2 separate regions of the Homo sapiens genome follow, and region 2 is linked to region 1. Evidence: promoter capture Hi-C in human tissues and cell types (Jung and others, 2019). All regions are on one chromosome and are shown on one strand. Each heading gives the region's core, a stretch centred on a gene start or on the middle of the fragment in contact. The rest is flanking DNA. Distances are from core to core; before and after follow the strand shown.

What was found. Contacts are between HindIII fragments. The study calls those that stand out against the background at their distance.
Region 2: a contact is called between a fragment that was not itself captured here and the fragment with the promoter of C1QA in region 1, in 5 of the 25 tissues and cell types used here (H1 embryonic stem cells, aorta, hippocampus and 2 more).

What each region holds. Positions count from the first base shown.
Region 1 is chr1:22,630,639-22,637,877 of GRCh38, reverse strand. It overlaps C1QA (complement C1q A chain), which reads right to left and starts at 1,250. Exons shown (of 3, transcript NM_015991.4): 1 at 1,176-1,250; 2 at 99-268. The coding sequence starts at 261. MIR6127 (microRNA 6127) reads left to right here and starts at 4,512; the gene lies at 4,512-4,620. The HindIII fragment of the contact is 11,741 bases long and covers 1-2,253 here.
Region 2 is chr1:22,506,682-22,513,920 of GRCh38, reverse strand. ZBTB40 (zinc finger and BTB domain containing 40) reads right to left here. Exons shown (of 18, transcript NM_014870.4): 7 at 5,784-5,920; 8 at 5,190-5,391; 9 at 4,688-4,821; 10 at 2,574-2,742; 11 at 1,787-2,245; 12 at 791-997. Among named protein-coding and RNA genes, the nearest start is that of EPHA8, 53 kb to the left of the region's middle. The HindIII fragment of the contact is 3,059 bases long and covers 3,179-6,237 here.

The sequences.
Region 1 (7,239 bases), core at 1-2,500:
AGACGGACTCCTGATTCTCAGTGCCACCCCAAGCCTTCACCCTGGAGGCCAAGTCAGGCCAAGGTCCAAGGGGCTGGGTCCCGAGGAAGGGTGCTTACCCGGCTCCCCTTGCTCCCCCTTGAGGCCTGGCCGCCCCCGTCTGCCAGGTCTTCCTGCCTCCCCTTTCTTCCCGTCTGGTGCTCGGCACAAGTCCTCGGTCACCATAGAGGCCAGCGATATGGCCAGCACACAGAGCACCAGCCATCCCCGGGGACCCTCCATGATGCCTCTGTGGAGACACGGGAGGGCCTGGGCAGGTTGGACATCACACTCACACCCAGCTCCCACCCTTGAGTCCCATGCACACAATGATATATGCACAGTCCTCCCCAAGTGCACATGCACCCTCTGGGGCTCTCAATGTCCACTCTCAATCCAGCCCCAGGACCCCACGCATATACACAGAACCACAAACTCACACACATCCACACATGCAACAGAGCACACCCACATCTTCACACACTCACACAAACACAGCTCTCATCCACGCACCTACAAAACACAGTAGGCAAACTCAGAAATCCACTATACCCCCCTAGACACACAACTGATACCCAAATAGACCCTGTCCCTCACTTGCACGGACACACACATTCATACACTCCCACAGGTAATCGATTTCATTGAACAAATATGTATTGAGCGCCTGCTCCTTATTTAATTAACACTGGCTCACCCAGATGGTGGAGCTCTGCATACACACAGGAATTCACAAACGCCCAAAGCGACACCTGCTCACTCTTCTGCATGCTCAGCGCCTTTCAGCATCCACCTGAGCATGGGTGACTGGCTGCCCCTACAGTCCCCTCTGCTGGGTCCCACTGCCAGCTCTAGCACCCCAGGCTTTTCCTGGTTTCTTATGTGTTATGGGGCCAGGACCCAGGAACCCTGGTCTTACCCTTCAGTTGTTAGGTCTAACTCATCGCCTCTCACCCTCCCCCAAGCCCTGGCTCAAGGAGTTAAGGTCCCTCCACTCACCCATTCTGGGTCCTGGATCAGTGCTGCACCCCCATCCCTGTCCTAGAATCAGGCACAGTTATTTCCCTCCCTCCCTGCCTCAGCTGCCCAGCCTCCTGGGCCAGCTCCCCTGGGTCCCAGAACTCTGCAGCCCCCTCCCTCTGGGACTCTGGCCTCACCTGCCTCCTGTTGTCAACTCCAACTGGATGCTCCTGCCCTCCGCCCAGGGACCCTGTGGGCTGCCCAGCAGGAGTGGCTCCAGGCTGTGGCCAAGTTTCACATCCCTTCCTACTTCCCCTTCTTCAGACCTGCCCCCTGAACTTCCCCAGTGGCCAGAAGCTCACCAGGGACATTTCAAGCAGACTTCAGCAAGACTGGGACATTGGGCGTCCTGCCCCAGCAACAGCTGGTGTGGGAGTGGGGGCAGTGAGGCCAGTGCCTGTGAGGATGTGGGGTGGAGGCCGTGCAGGGTGAGGTTCTGAGAACCAGCGAAGCACAGAACACCAGAGCGGAAGGAATCTTTAAAAAAATCTGTCCCTTGTAGGACTTTTCATGATTATGAAAGTGACATGCAATTCATTGCCAAAAGCTTGGAAAATACAAAGAAGAAAGAACAGTGCATTGGTGAGAAGGAAGCACAGCAATCTGTTTCTAGACTTGCTGCTTCCTAGTTGCATGTCTTTGGGAAATTACTTGACCTCCTGAGCCCTCAGTTTTATCTGTACACTGGGAACGGGGTCCTATATCATCTGATTATTATAACATTTTAATGACTTGCACATACAAAACACTTGGCACATGGTGAACACTTAGTCACTAGCTTTTGCCAACATTTAAAAAAACAGCAAGTCTAGGTGCTTTGGCTCACGCCTGTAATCCCAGCATTTTGGGAGGTCAAGGCAGGCGGATCACTTGAGGTCAGGAGTTCGAGACCAGCCTGGCCAACATGGTGAAACTCCATCTCTACTAAAAATTTAAAAAATAGCCAGGTGTGGTAGCATGCACCTGTGTAGTCCCAGCTATTTGGGAGGCTGAGCTGGGAGGATTGCTAGAGCCCAGGAGGTTGAGGCTGCAGTGAGCTTTGATCTTACCACTGCACTCCTGCCTGGGAGACAGAACAAGACCCCATCTCAAAAAAAAAAAAAAAAAAAAGAGATGGCAATGGCGGGCCGTCTGGAATGGCTGCTGTCATCACACTGGCTGCAGCAGGGAGGCACGGCCAGGGCTGCATGCTCCATGTAGCCAGTGGGAGCTGGGGACAGTGGGAACCCCGCCCTCCTGGGAACCACTGCAGCTGCCAAACCACAGCTGATCCTGCTTCATGGAGCAGGTGGGGGCCCCCGCCATCCCCCATGCAGCTGCAGCTGCCTAAACTGCAGCTGTGGACCCAGGCATCCCTGCAATCTTGGGGGCCCGGGAAGGCCCCCCGCCCCACCCTTCAGGCTCAGAAGTGTCTGCTCCCACTGCCTGGCTTCTCCCTCCTCTTGGCGCCCACTCTGATCTTAGAGCAAAGTTGGTGCTGAGCCTGGGTGCTGTCGCAGCCTGGCTGGGTGTGGGCATGCTTGGGGCAGTGCTGACACACTAGACCCCTGCTGCCTTGGCCCCCTCTGGACTTTGGGCACTGACTAGCATGGAAGGAAAGCCAAGGGGAAACTGAGGGCAGCTCGGCACTGGCCTGCAGACGCTCCTTGGCATGAACAGCCTGGGCACCATGAACAGCAGCAGGAGACAGACAGGCTCCTGGGTGGAAGGGGATGGGTCCCTGGTGAGGCCCTACCTTCAAGCCAGGGAGGGCCTCAAGGCTGGGGGCCAGGCTGCCAGTCCCACACACCAGAGTGGGAACTTATGGTGTATTTTCTGGGCTTGCCTATAGCCACCCATGGACCAATCAGTATGCACTTCCTCCTCTCTGAGGCTCATGAAAGCTTCAGGCTCAGCCAGAGCTGGGCAGACATTGGATGACCAGCTGCCGAGAGGAGCTACCCGCTCCAGGGCCTCCTCTCTGCTGAGAGCTGCAGAGATGGCAGAACAACTTGCCTGCAGAAAGGAGCTTCCCATTCCAGGGTCTTCCCTCTTCTGAGAGCTGGAAAGTCGACAGGATGACCTGCCTGCAGAGAGGAGCTTCCCATTCCAGGGTCTCCTCTCTGCTAGCAGCTGAACACTCATCAGGACACCCTGGCTGTGGAAAGGAGCTGCCCCCTGAGGGAGGCTCTGCAGGAGGCTGAGCTGTTCTATCGCTCAGTAAAGCTCCTCTTCGTCTTGCTCACTCCCCACTTGTCTGCATACCTCATTCTTCCTGGTTGCAGGATAAGAACTTGGGACCCATCAAATGGTGGGGCTGAAAGAGCTGTAACACAAACAAGGCTGAAACATGCCCCTTGCTTGCCATGATGCAGGTGAAGGGAAGGAAAGAAGAGCTGCGGCCCTCTGGGGAACCCAGACCTGGGAGCTCCCCAAGCTGGAGCTGTGACTCCCTTTTCGGGGCCCTGTGGTTCCTGGCATCTCGAAGCTTCTGGGTGCCACCGTGTTCCCCGGTGCCAGCTGTGGAAGCTGCTTGTGGTGTACTTGGTCTAGCCACAACCTCTCAGAGAGCTGGCGCCCATGCTGGCACCTGGAGCTGCTCACCCCGCTGCAGCAGCCGGCATGTCTGACTGTGTGCAGTGGCCAGACCCCATGTTCACTCACACACCCTTCACTGTTCCATGCCTGACTTGCCCTGGGCAGATGTGGAACCCAGGCTGGTAATGTGAGCTGAGTGCTGCCTGCCAGGAGGAGTGAGTGAAACAAGCCCAGTGGGCCTGAGCAAAACTTGGGCAAAGGTGCCACCAGCCACAGAGGTTTCCGGCCAGAAAATGACACCCCAAAGATCCTGTAACACCATCTCAAAAAAAAACAAAAAACAAAACCCAGCAACAAAAGCCTGTGAATTCTACCATCTAGAGACAATTGCTGCTAGTGTTTGAACAGATCATCTAGCCTTACTCACCTTAACTGATGGGATGCTCATTACCTGTCAGCACGGCACACTGCATCATTGTCAGCTTGGACCCTGAGAATGCTTTTCTTTAGATAGAGAGGCTCTGTCTCTCCCAGACTGGAGACCAATGTGTTCAGGCCTGGGCTGACCACATCTGTCTGCTTCTTCTCATGAGCATGTTTTTGTTTGTTTGTTTGTTTTCTGAAAATTTTGCCAGAGGCAGGAGGAGGAAAAGAGGAGGAGGAGGGAGGAGATAAGGGAAGGCTGTTGAAGTGGGCAGATGAAGGATGGTCTAGAGCCAGGGTTTTTGAGCTTTGGGGACTTCTTTTTCATTTGCAATCTTGTGTGGCATCTGATGTATGTCAAACAGATAAAAATGGGGATACTGGCTTGAAGGGTGGGGGCCCAGAGCTCCCCCTGACAGCCCCTCCCATGCTCCCTGGATTCAGAAAGTTCGTGGAGCTGGAATCTCATCTGCTCAGCCCATACCTAACTCACAGTGTGACCCTGGGCAAGTTATCTCATCTTTCTGAACCCCACTTTCTCCATCTACCAAGATGAGGGAGTGGGTGGGAGGTGGGAAGGCTGCCCCAAATGGCCTCTAACATCCCTTCCAGTCTCCTCCTCCTCCTCCTCCTTCTTCTTCTTTTGAGACAGAGTCTCATTTTTTTGCCCAGGTGGGAGTGTAGTGGCTGGATCTCAGCTCACTGCAACCTCTGCCTCCTGGGTTCAAGAGATTCTCCTGCCTCAGCCTTCCAAGTAGCTGGGATTACAGGCACGCATGCACCACCATGCCCAGCTAATTTTTGTATTTTTAGTAGAGACGGGGTTTTGCCATGTTGCCCAGGCTGGTCTCAAACTCCTGACCTCAGGTGATCTGTCCATCTCGGCCTCCCAAAGTGCTGGGATTACAGGCGTGAGCCACCGCGCCCAGCCCAGTATCCATCTTCTTCTTCTTCTTCTTCTTCTTTTTTTTTTTTTTTTTTTGAGACAGTCTCACTTTGTTGCCCAGGCTGGAGTGCAGTGGCTCGATCTCAGCTCACTGCAACCTCTGCCTCCTGGGTTCAAGAGATTCTCCTGCCTCAGCCTTCCAAGTAGCTGGGATTACAGGCGTGTGTGCACCACCACGCCCGGCTAATTTTTGTATTTTTAGTAGGGACGGGGTTTTGCCATGTTGCCCAGGCTGGTCTCAAACCCCTGACCTCAGGTGATCTGCCCATCTCGGCCTCCCAAAGTGCTAGGATTACAGGTGTGAGCCACCGCGCCCGGCCCAGTATCCATCTTCTTTGACTGCATTGCGTCAGCCCTGCTTGCCTGCCAGAGGAGTTAGAAACATGACATGCCCGAGGCAGAAACGCCAGCCCTGCGTGCCCTATTTTACTCTGAAGACACAAAGGACCAGAGACAAAAAAAGACTTGCCCGGGTCACACAGACAGGGGCAAGAGTTGGCAAGAGGAAAAATCAGATACTGTGAAAAGCTTCTCAAAGTCTAGTTTTCAAAATATTGAATACCCAGTTCCTATAGAAATACAGTGTGGGAATGTGTCAGTGTCCTCTTGTAGGTTGTTAATGGAGGAACCAGCTGGGTGACAAAGCTAGTTCAATGGATATGGAAAAAAATATATATGTATACCTATATATGGAGACAGAGAGAGTCAGTTAAAACAACAAGAATTCTGGAATATTCATAAAATTGCTAAATTAGATACAAAACTGGTTAGTGTTCTATAGGGCAATAAAATCATCATGTTGGGGCTATCTTCTCTATTGAAAAGAAATCATTTGCATCTCTACTAGACAAAAATAATTTGCAACTTAACAGTTTTCTACCAGTTAACAGCTATCTTTACTGAATCTGGGCTCTAATCAATAGTAAATAATAAGTCAAGCCAAGTGACATTCCCCTAGAGTGTCAGATGACCCTTAGCAGGGTTTGTTAGATACAGCTCTCATTTGACTTTGAAAGGACACCGGTTATCTATTTGCCTTATTTCCAAGTGTTGGATGATTTTACTTATCAGGCTGTTGCAAGAGTATAAACACTTCCCAAGAAATAAAAGACATCGATACTAATGCGCATATCATTAGTGTGAGAAATAAAAGGGTCAGCAATGGCCCTGTGCATGTCACAACAGGGACACCTTCAGGCGGAGAGGAAGGGCATATTCTTCCATTTCTCCAGAGCCCAGACTCCTAGACGGGAGGCAGGAGATGTGGGGAAGAGAGGAAATTCCTAGCCATGCTTGCACAGTTATGATCCATGAGGTTCAGTCTCAGAGTGGGATCAAAGGTCAAATAAATAACCAAAAAATAATTTTTAAATGACTTGAATTCTTTATGGCAGTCACATCCCATTCAAGGGTTGTGTTGCAAAATCGGCATACGAGGCAAACATTGTAAATGGTGAGTATCACCATTGTAAATGGTGGAAAAATTCTTCAAACAGCGCCACGTGAAAGACTGTATTACCGTTTCACAATAGTCTTTTGCTGTCAGTTTTGGCTCCAATAGTAGAACAGATTTCTTTTTCTTCAGTTGAGTACCAGTTGGTTAAGGTTAACCAATTCCCCCACCACTCACACACAAAGGAATTGAATCTTTGGAGACTGGAGCCACCCTTGGAGGTGAGGTGTTTAGATCATGAGGGGTTCACAGGAGCGGAGGCAGACTTGGGGACAGCAGAACTCTCCCAGCCACGGTCCCTCCAGAAATAGGCTCTTAGAAGACAGTATCCCCTGGCTGGGAGCAGTGGCTCACGCCTGTAATCCCAGCACTTTGGGAGGTCGAGGAGGGTGGATCAACTGAGGCCGGGAGTTTGAGTCCAGCCTGACAAACATGGATAAACTCTGTCTCTACTAAAAGTATAAAATTAGTTGGCCTAGTGGCACATGCCTGTAATCCCTGCTACTCGGGAGGCTGAGGCAGGAGAATTGCTTGAACCCAGGAGGTGGAGGTTGCAGTGAACCAAGATCAGGCCATTGCACTTCAGCTTGGGCGACAAGAGTGAAACTCCGTCTCAAAAAAAAAAAAAACCAATATCCCCTGCCTTACTTAAATTGTGATTCTCTCTCTGAGTCCTATTAGGCGAAGTGGAGATAGGCAAGTGTGTATATAATGCGACTCTAAGGTGCTTGTATATTTCTTTTAAAAAAAATGAGGCATAATTTGCACAGAGTAAAATGTGCACATCTCAAGCACACTGCTCAGTAGCTTACACCTGCACGCACAGGCCCTCTACCACCACTCAGATCAGAGTGCAGAGTAT
Region 2 (7,239 bases), core at 3,459-5,958, 130 kb after region 1:
GCTCAAATAATTTTATGTAAATTCTCTATAACTTTTAATGGCAAAAACCACAATGACTTTTCCACAAGACCTAATATAAAGTCATAGGAGGTTAGCCAGTCTCTTTCAGAAGCTCTCCCAGTAAGCAGTTTACGTCTGTGCACAGAGCTATTCCCAGTCGTCTGTTTGCCTAGAGGTTGTGCATTGTTTTTTAATTTTATTTATTATTATTATTATTTTTGAGACGGAGTCTCACTCTGTTGCCCAGGCTGGAGTGCAGTGGCACAATCTCAGCTCACTGCAAGTTCCACCTCCCAGGTTCACACCATTCTCCTGCCTCAGCCTCCCGAGTAGCTGAGACTCCAGGTGCCCGCCACCACGCCTGGCTAATTTTTTGTATTTTTTAGTACAGATGGGGTTTCACCATGTTAGCCAGGATGGTCTCAATCTCCTGACCTTGTGATCCGCCTGCCTCAGCCTTATTTTTTTTTTGATACTTAACTTTTGTGGGTACACAGTAGGTGTATATATTCACAAGGTACATGTGATGTTGTGCTGCAGGCATGCAATATGAAATAACTGCATCAGGGAGAATGAGAGATCCATCCCCTCCAGCATTTATCCTCTGTGTAATAAATAATCCAAATTACACTGTATTTAAAATGTACAATTAAGTTATTATTGACTTTAGTCACCCTGTTGTGCTATCAAATTGTTTTGTTTTTGAGATATATATCACACCTAATCCAAATGGGGTTTAGGCAGTTCGCAGTGAAAGTCTGCAGGAGAAATGAACTGTGCCCCGCCTTACCTTCTGAGTGCTTCTTCTTGGTGTGATAGGCCAGGGCGGAGGCCTGGGTGAAGGTCATGAGGCAGTGCTTGCACATGAACGGGCGGTCCCCGGTGTGAAGGCGAAGGTGGTTCTTCAGGGTGGAATTGGCTGCAAACTTCGCCCCACACTCTTCACAGGAGAAAGGCTTCTCATCGAAGTGCTCTGTCAGCTTATGGTACTGCATGCCTAGGGAAGCCAAGCACACCAGAGGCCAGAAGAGATGCTACTAATCAGTGTTAGGAATCTAGCACAGGATACCAAGAGCACTGTCTCAGCCCAGGCCTCCAGAGGAAGCACAGCATGAAGCCCAGGGTGCCAGGCCACGCTGGTACCCACTGCACACAGCCACGCTGCTCTCTACCCACCAACTGGCATCCCCAAAGTCACCTGGCCTTACTCCTGGATGGAGCCGGTGGAAAGTAATGCTGGGCTTATCTTCCCCATTCCCTTCTCTCTCTTAAATAGGACCCTGCCACCCAGAACTAGGGAAACTCAACTTGCTTTTATATTTCATTAGGTTTATCCAAATTCTAGGACAAGGGAAACCATTCTGACTGTACATCCCATGATTTCCATGACTCTTGTTTGTTACCAAGAAACAAGTGGCACATGGAAACATGAGCCAGGTATTAAGTAGCTGGTTATCACTGTAAACAGTAAGAGCTGTAAGTTATTGTGTGCTCACTCTGTTACAGGCAGTGCACTGGTGTTTAGCTCTGTTACCTTAAGTCTTCATAACAATGCAACAGAGTAAGTGGTATCAGGGTGCTGCTTTAATAGATTTGGGGAAATCAAAGCTCGGGGGCTGATTCCAAAGCCCATGCTCTTAAAATATTACCCTGCCTCTGTAGGAACCTGCTCTATTTTCTAAGCCCACCCACAGCCCTCACTGCACACAACTAAGGGAAAGGCCTGAAATCCAAGCTATAAAACCCACAATTATCATCCTCTGTTCCTTTGCCTTCTTGAACGTACCTGAGGCATGGGCAAATTCTCTGCCACAGAGGTCACATGTCACTGGAAGCCTCTTCTTCTTCTTCTTGGGGGCATCGGGCTCTCCACCTGCACCATGGGCCTCCAGCTGATGTTTGTCCAGCTCTTTCTTTGAATCCTTGGTCTCACTGCACTCCTTACACTGCACCTGTTTGCTCTTAGCCACCCGGCAGCGCTTCATGTGCACCTTTAGGCGGCAGTAGAAATGGAAGCTTTTGTCGCAGGCCTTACAGATGAAGCTCTTCTTGGCAGGGTCTGGGGAGGCTGAAGCCTCTTTCTCTTGCTGTCCTGGCAAGGAACCAGTCTCTCCTTGATCATTCTGTTCCCCAGGCTGGCTGTCTTCTTTGGCTGCCTTTTCATCTTCTTTGTTGTTGGCTTCAAGGTGAAATTTATTACTCACCTTCCACGTTTCCTTCTCTCCATCTTCCTTAGTAAGGACACCTGCATAAAAGAGACATCTCGTGGCTCTGCGAACTCTCTGTTTCTATTTTGCTTTATAACGTTTCTAACACACTTCTTACAGGAGACTAGAGACTACTTGAGATCCTCAAAAACACTCTGAAGTAATATCATTGTCCTCCTTACTTTCCAATAAACACAAAGAACATTTTCCCCCTATGTCTCATGACTTTTTTAGGTATTCAGAGCATATAAAATGAATACGTAACTTAAGGTTGTGATAAACTATGATATGAAATGCTGTCTCTTTCTTCAAGAAACAACCTGGTGTGCTGATAGGAACCCCCTTCCCACCTGGCCCGTTCCTTACCAATGTATGCCAACTCCTGCATGACAGGCTGCAGGCCTGGAAAAGATTTGTGGACACTGCACAGGAGGTGGCATATTTCAATGGCCGGGACTGATTTTTCCATGGCTCTGCTCAGCACTGCTCTCAGGGAAGCTTCAGGGCTGGCTGTCTCAGAGGGAATGCTCAGAATCTAAATGAATACCAGGAGACAAAGGTGTGGGGTTAATCTCAGCAGATTTTCCCCATGGTTTTCAACCTAAAAAAAAAAAAAAAAAGCTAATCCCAGGAAGGCACTGCTCCATTTATAAGCAGTTTATACATCGCCTTGTGATAAATGTAGTGGACAGCTCTGTTTGCCAAAGAACAGGAAAACTAACAAAACAGAAAAAAAGAAGCATGTATCCAGATAAATGTGCAAATACAAAGAAGATACATGCAGGGAAGCATAAAGCATTTTCTATAAGAAATAGCTTATCAGAAACTAGGAGTCTCCCAAAGACCTTTTCTGGATCTTAATACTAAAAGCTTGAAAAGCTATAGGATTTGGTCGTCGGTGTGTCTGTCTTGAAAATCAGAATAAGTTTTCATAATATATAATTGTCTCAATGTCTGGAAGTAATTCTGCATGATCAGTGGCTTCATATTTTTAGATACTTAGATGTACCCATTTAAACGTCATTTTCTTTCACAAAGAAACTCAGCGTTTTAAAGAAGGTTCAAATAGAAGCTTTAAAGAGTCCAAGAATATTATTTCAAAGCCGTCGTCCTCTTTCAGAATGTTAGAGCTATCAGCAGAAAGAGTCGGTACACTGAGAAAATAAAGCTAAACCATCCACAGATGGCCAAACGGAATTTTCATTTTGGAAGATATTTTATTTCTGCTCTTTTCAAGTCTATCTAAATAAACCTGATGTCCCTGGAGGCAGGCATGAGACTAATTAGTGAGGCTAAAACTGATCAACTGCAGAAGCCCCATCTCTGAAGTTACGGCGTGCTGGAGAGAGTCTAACAGATGAGTCTTTCCTCTGAAGCCCCACAGAAATGTGTGCCATCTTCTTCCCATCTGAGTCAGACCAACATGTGGCTGTCACCTGCACAGAGAGAGTTAGAAACCCGCCCTTCTGCACACCTTCCACACCTACCTGAATCAAAAGGGCACTACATTTGAATCTGTAGTTTAATTTCATGTTCCTTTCTTGTTCTTCCCCACTCAGGATGCAAATGATCCTGGGCTGGACACCCATGAGTTCCCCCAGTCCCCACTTGGTATTCCTGGGATGCTGGCCACATTGTGTGAAGGCTTACAGAAAATGAGCTGGCACTATTTGCTACCCAATATGGGCAAAAGCTTTGTTTTATCTATGTTTATCTTGGCTCTTTCTAGAAGCCAGAATAGAACATGTAATAAGACCAGTTTTACTTTCCTTCATCTGAGAGAAGCTGCTTCTTAGAACAGGTAAGAGAACAGTATCATGGCTCCAGGGGATACCAGGTTTAGATAAATGGAATAAATTGGTTTGAGTCATAGGAAGCTGGGTTCAAATCCTGACATCATCTCCTCCCTGCCAGAGCATTTTAGACAGGTAACTTAACCCTTTGGGGCCTGAGAACCCTTGTCTATAAAATGTGATAACATCACCTGCCATGTAGAGCTGGAAGGATTAAAAGAGCAAACGTGTTAGGAAGCATTAGCCTAGCAAGGGGTACAGATATTGGTTCTGGCCAGGCACAGTGGCTCACGCCTGTAATCCCAGCACTCTGGCAAAGCTGAGATGGGTGAATCACTTGAGGCCAGGAGTTCGAGACCAGCCTGGCCAACATGGCGAAACCCCGTCTCCACTAAAAATACAAAAAATTAGCAGGGCACGGTGGTGCGCACCTGTAATCCCAGTTACTTGGGAGGCTGAGGCAGGAGAATCGCTTGAACCCGGAAGGCAGAGGTTGCCATGAGCCAAGATCGTGCCACTGCACTGCAGCCTGGGCGACAGAGCAAGACTCTGTCTCAAAAGAGAAAAAGGAAAAAAAAAGAAGGAAAAACAACCCAACCAACTATTGGTTCCTCTCTTAGGAATGAAGACAGTCCCAGGCAACAACTGTAAAACTCTCTGGCATTTCGCTTTTTATTCCCACCACACCTCTTTCACAGTCTCTGCCAGGTGCTCCTCCTCCGAGGTAAAGAGCTTGTACTCAATCTTCTGTTGGATGGCCTCCAAGATCAACTGGTTATGCCTCAGGATTGTTTCTAAAGTGGCATGTTCTGGGGTGGTCACTGAAAAAAAGGGGGATCAAAAACTCATTAGGCAAACAATGAGCACCATTTTTTCCTACACCCTTCCTCCACTCAACTCTTCATAATGAAAATGCATTTCCCCTATCTCCTATCTGAGGTTGGCAGTGGGGAAAACGGCAAATAGCACTGTAATCAGAGTATAATAATGAATGTAAGCTTAAGATAATTACTGGATCTATTTTTTAAAAGGTTTACAAACTCTTGTGTCCTTGAACAAAACTGCCAGTCCTTACTTCTAATAGTAGGGATGTAGGTGACTACCGTTAAGAGAGCTCTTCCTATTTTCTAGGAAGACTGACAGTCATCTCTAGTGGGGGCAAAACCCCCCCAGAGGGCAGGTAACTTACCTGCCCGGAAGAAAGCATCGGCACCAGGCTCCCTTCGTATTTCCTCCATGAGCAGGTCCAATGGACAGGTCTTTGTCTCCTGAACCACCAGCAGCAGTTGCCAAATGGCTGTGGCAGAGAGAGTCTGCTTTTCTAGAACTGCTGATATCAGAGAATTGAAACCACCTGAACCAGAGTCACGTTTCACAAGCTTCTCCATGACCTTCAAGATGTAACACAAACACTCACGTAAGAGACTCTCCAGCCACTAGCCCAGCTGCAGAGCTGCAAGTCTAGATATTGGGTTACAGTGAATATGTTTGGGGAAGGAGTTTTTCAACATCCTCACCTCTCAGTCTGAGAGATTTCTTATACATGACAAAGTTCTTCATTTCTCCTTTTGAATGCCTTTCCTTATTACCACAGAAATTAGAACTATTCTATTTGTTATTCCACCTTAGAAACTGAGATACCTTCTATTTCTCCTCTACTTAGCAATTCTCAACATGGCTACATATGTATATTTACAGAAAATATAAATGTGTGTGTGTATTCATATTTTTTCCTTCTTTCTCATTTTACCCTCCCCTCCCTCTGTTTCTCTCCCTCTCTTACCTCTCTTTCTCCAGGGGCTAAACTTGTCATGTGTGAGATCATCTTTAATAAAATCTGGTTGTCTGTGAAAATCTCAGAGAGGTTTTCATGATAGCGTCTCAATAGCTCAGTCCCATAATCATCAGGGCTTGGTTGGACTGTAAGGATATTAGCAAAACAATAATGTTTGATGCAACAAAACCTCCTACAGAAGACTCCAGGATATTACCAATGAGAGAGGAAGAGAGCAATCAGCACAAGGGCTCAGTGTCCTCTGCAGAGCCCTGGCTTGGGGCCTCATACACATATGTTCAGAGCTCCTCTGCCTACACTTAATCGCTTGGCGCTTCAGGGTCATAAAGCCGTTAACGCTTTGAAAGTCAGTGCCTGGTGGTAGGAGCTAGCAATTGCTCACCAGGGGGGTAATTAGAAGGCTGTACTTGTAAGAGACTCAGATGTGCAGGTTCAAGGGGGGGTGTTTGTCAAGCCTGAGGTAGAGGATCCGTGTGGCGATCCTAAAGACGAGCACGAATCAAGGCTGTGCGTGTGAAGCTGACCCGTGGTTTTTCTATTTAGGTGCCCTTTGGGCCAATTTGTTAGGTTCTCTCTTTTAAGAGGTCATATTTACTTGGAAGTTAAGAAAAATTGAAACTATCAGGCATTTCTCTTAGCTTTGCAGATAATTAAAAATGTACCCTTTTCTTTAGCTCAGTAACTCCACTTCTGGAAATCCAACCTTAAGAAATTATCTGAAGGTCTTTGTCTATGTACAAAGACAACTATCAAAGCATAATCTTTGCCGATGATGACAGTGAAGACAGCAACTAATATTTACTGAATGCCCATGTGCCGGGCACAGTGCTAAATGTTTTACATGTATTATACTAGCCACACAAAAACGAATGTGATAGGTACCACCCTTACCTCATTTCACAGAGCAAATGAGGTTCAGAAAGATTAAGTCACTTGCTCAGGGTATTACAGCTACAGAATGGTGCAGTGAGGGTGCGGCCCCAGGTAGTCTTGACACCAATGCCTACAGTCCTAACCATTATGCTACATCCGCTCTGAAATAAGGGCATGAATAATACACCATATACATCCTTATGATGGAAAACTACACAGCCTTCAAAAACTAGGATTGTGGGGAGTTTTTCTGAACTGTGGAGAAGGCTGCTGCAATGTTACATGGGGAAACCATAAAATTATACAATATGAAAGTATCTCAATATTATAAAAGTGATAGATAAAACATGTCAAGGTGTTAATATTGGCATGCTTGAGTGGTAGGATTTTAAATGGTTTTCTTCCTTATATTTGGAATTGTCCAAGCTTGTGTAAGTACATACTACTTTTATAGGCTAGGAACAAATATCCTTTTTCTGAAAACCATCTGAGTCCTAAATGCTCTGGGACAGGGAAGAGTTGGCTTGAGCTGGATTGTCTTTCTAAGAAATAGGATATGGACTCATTTCCC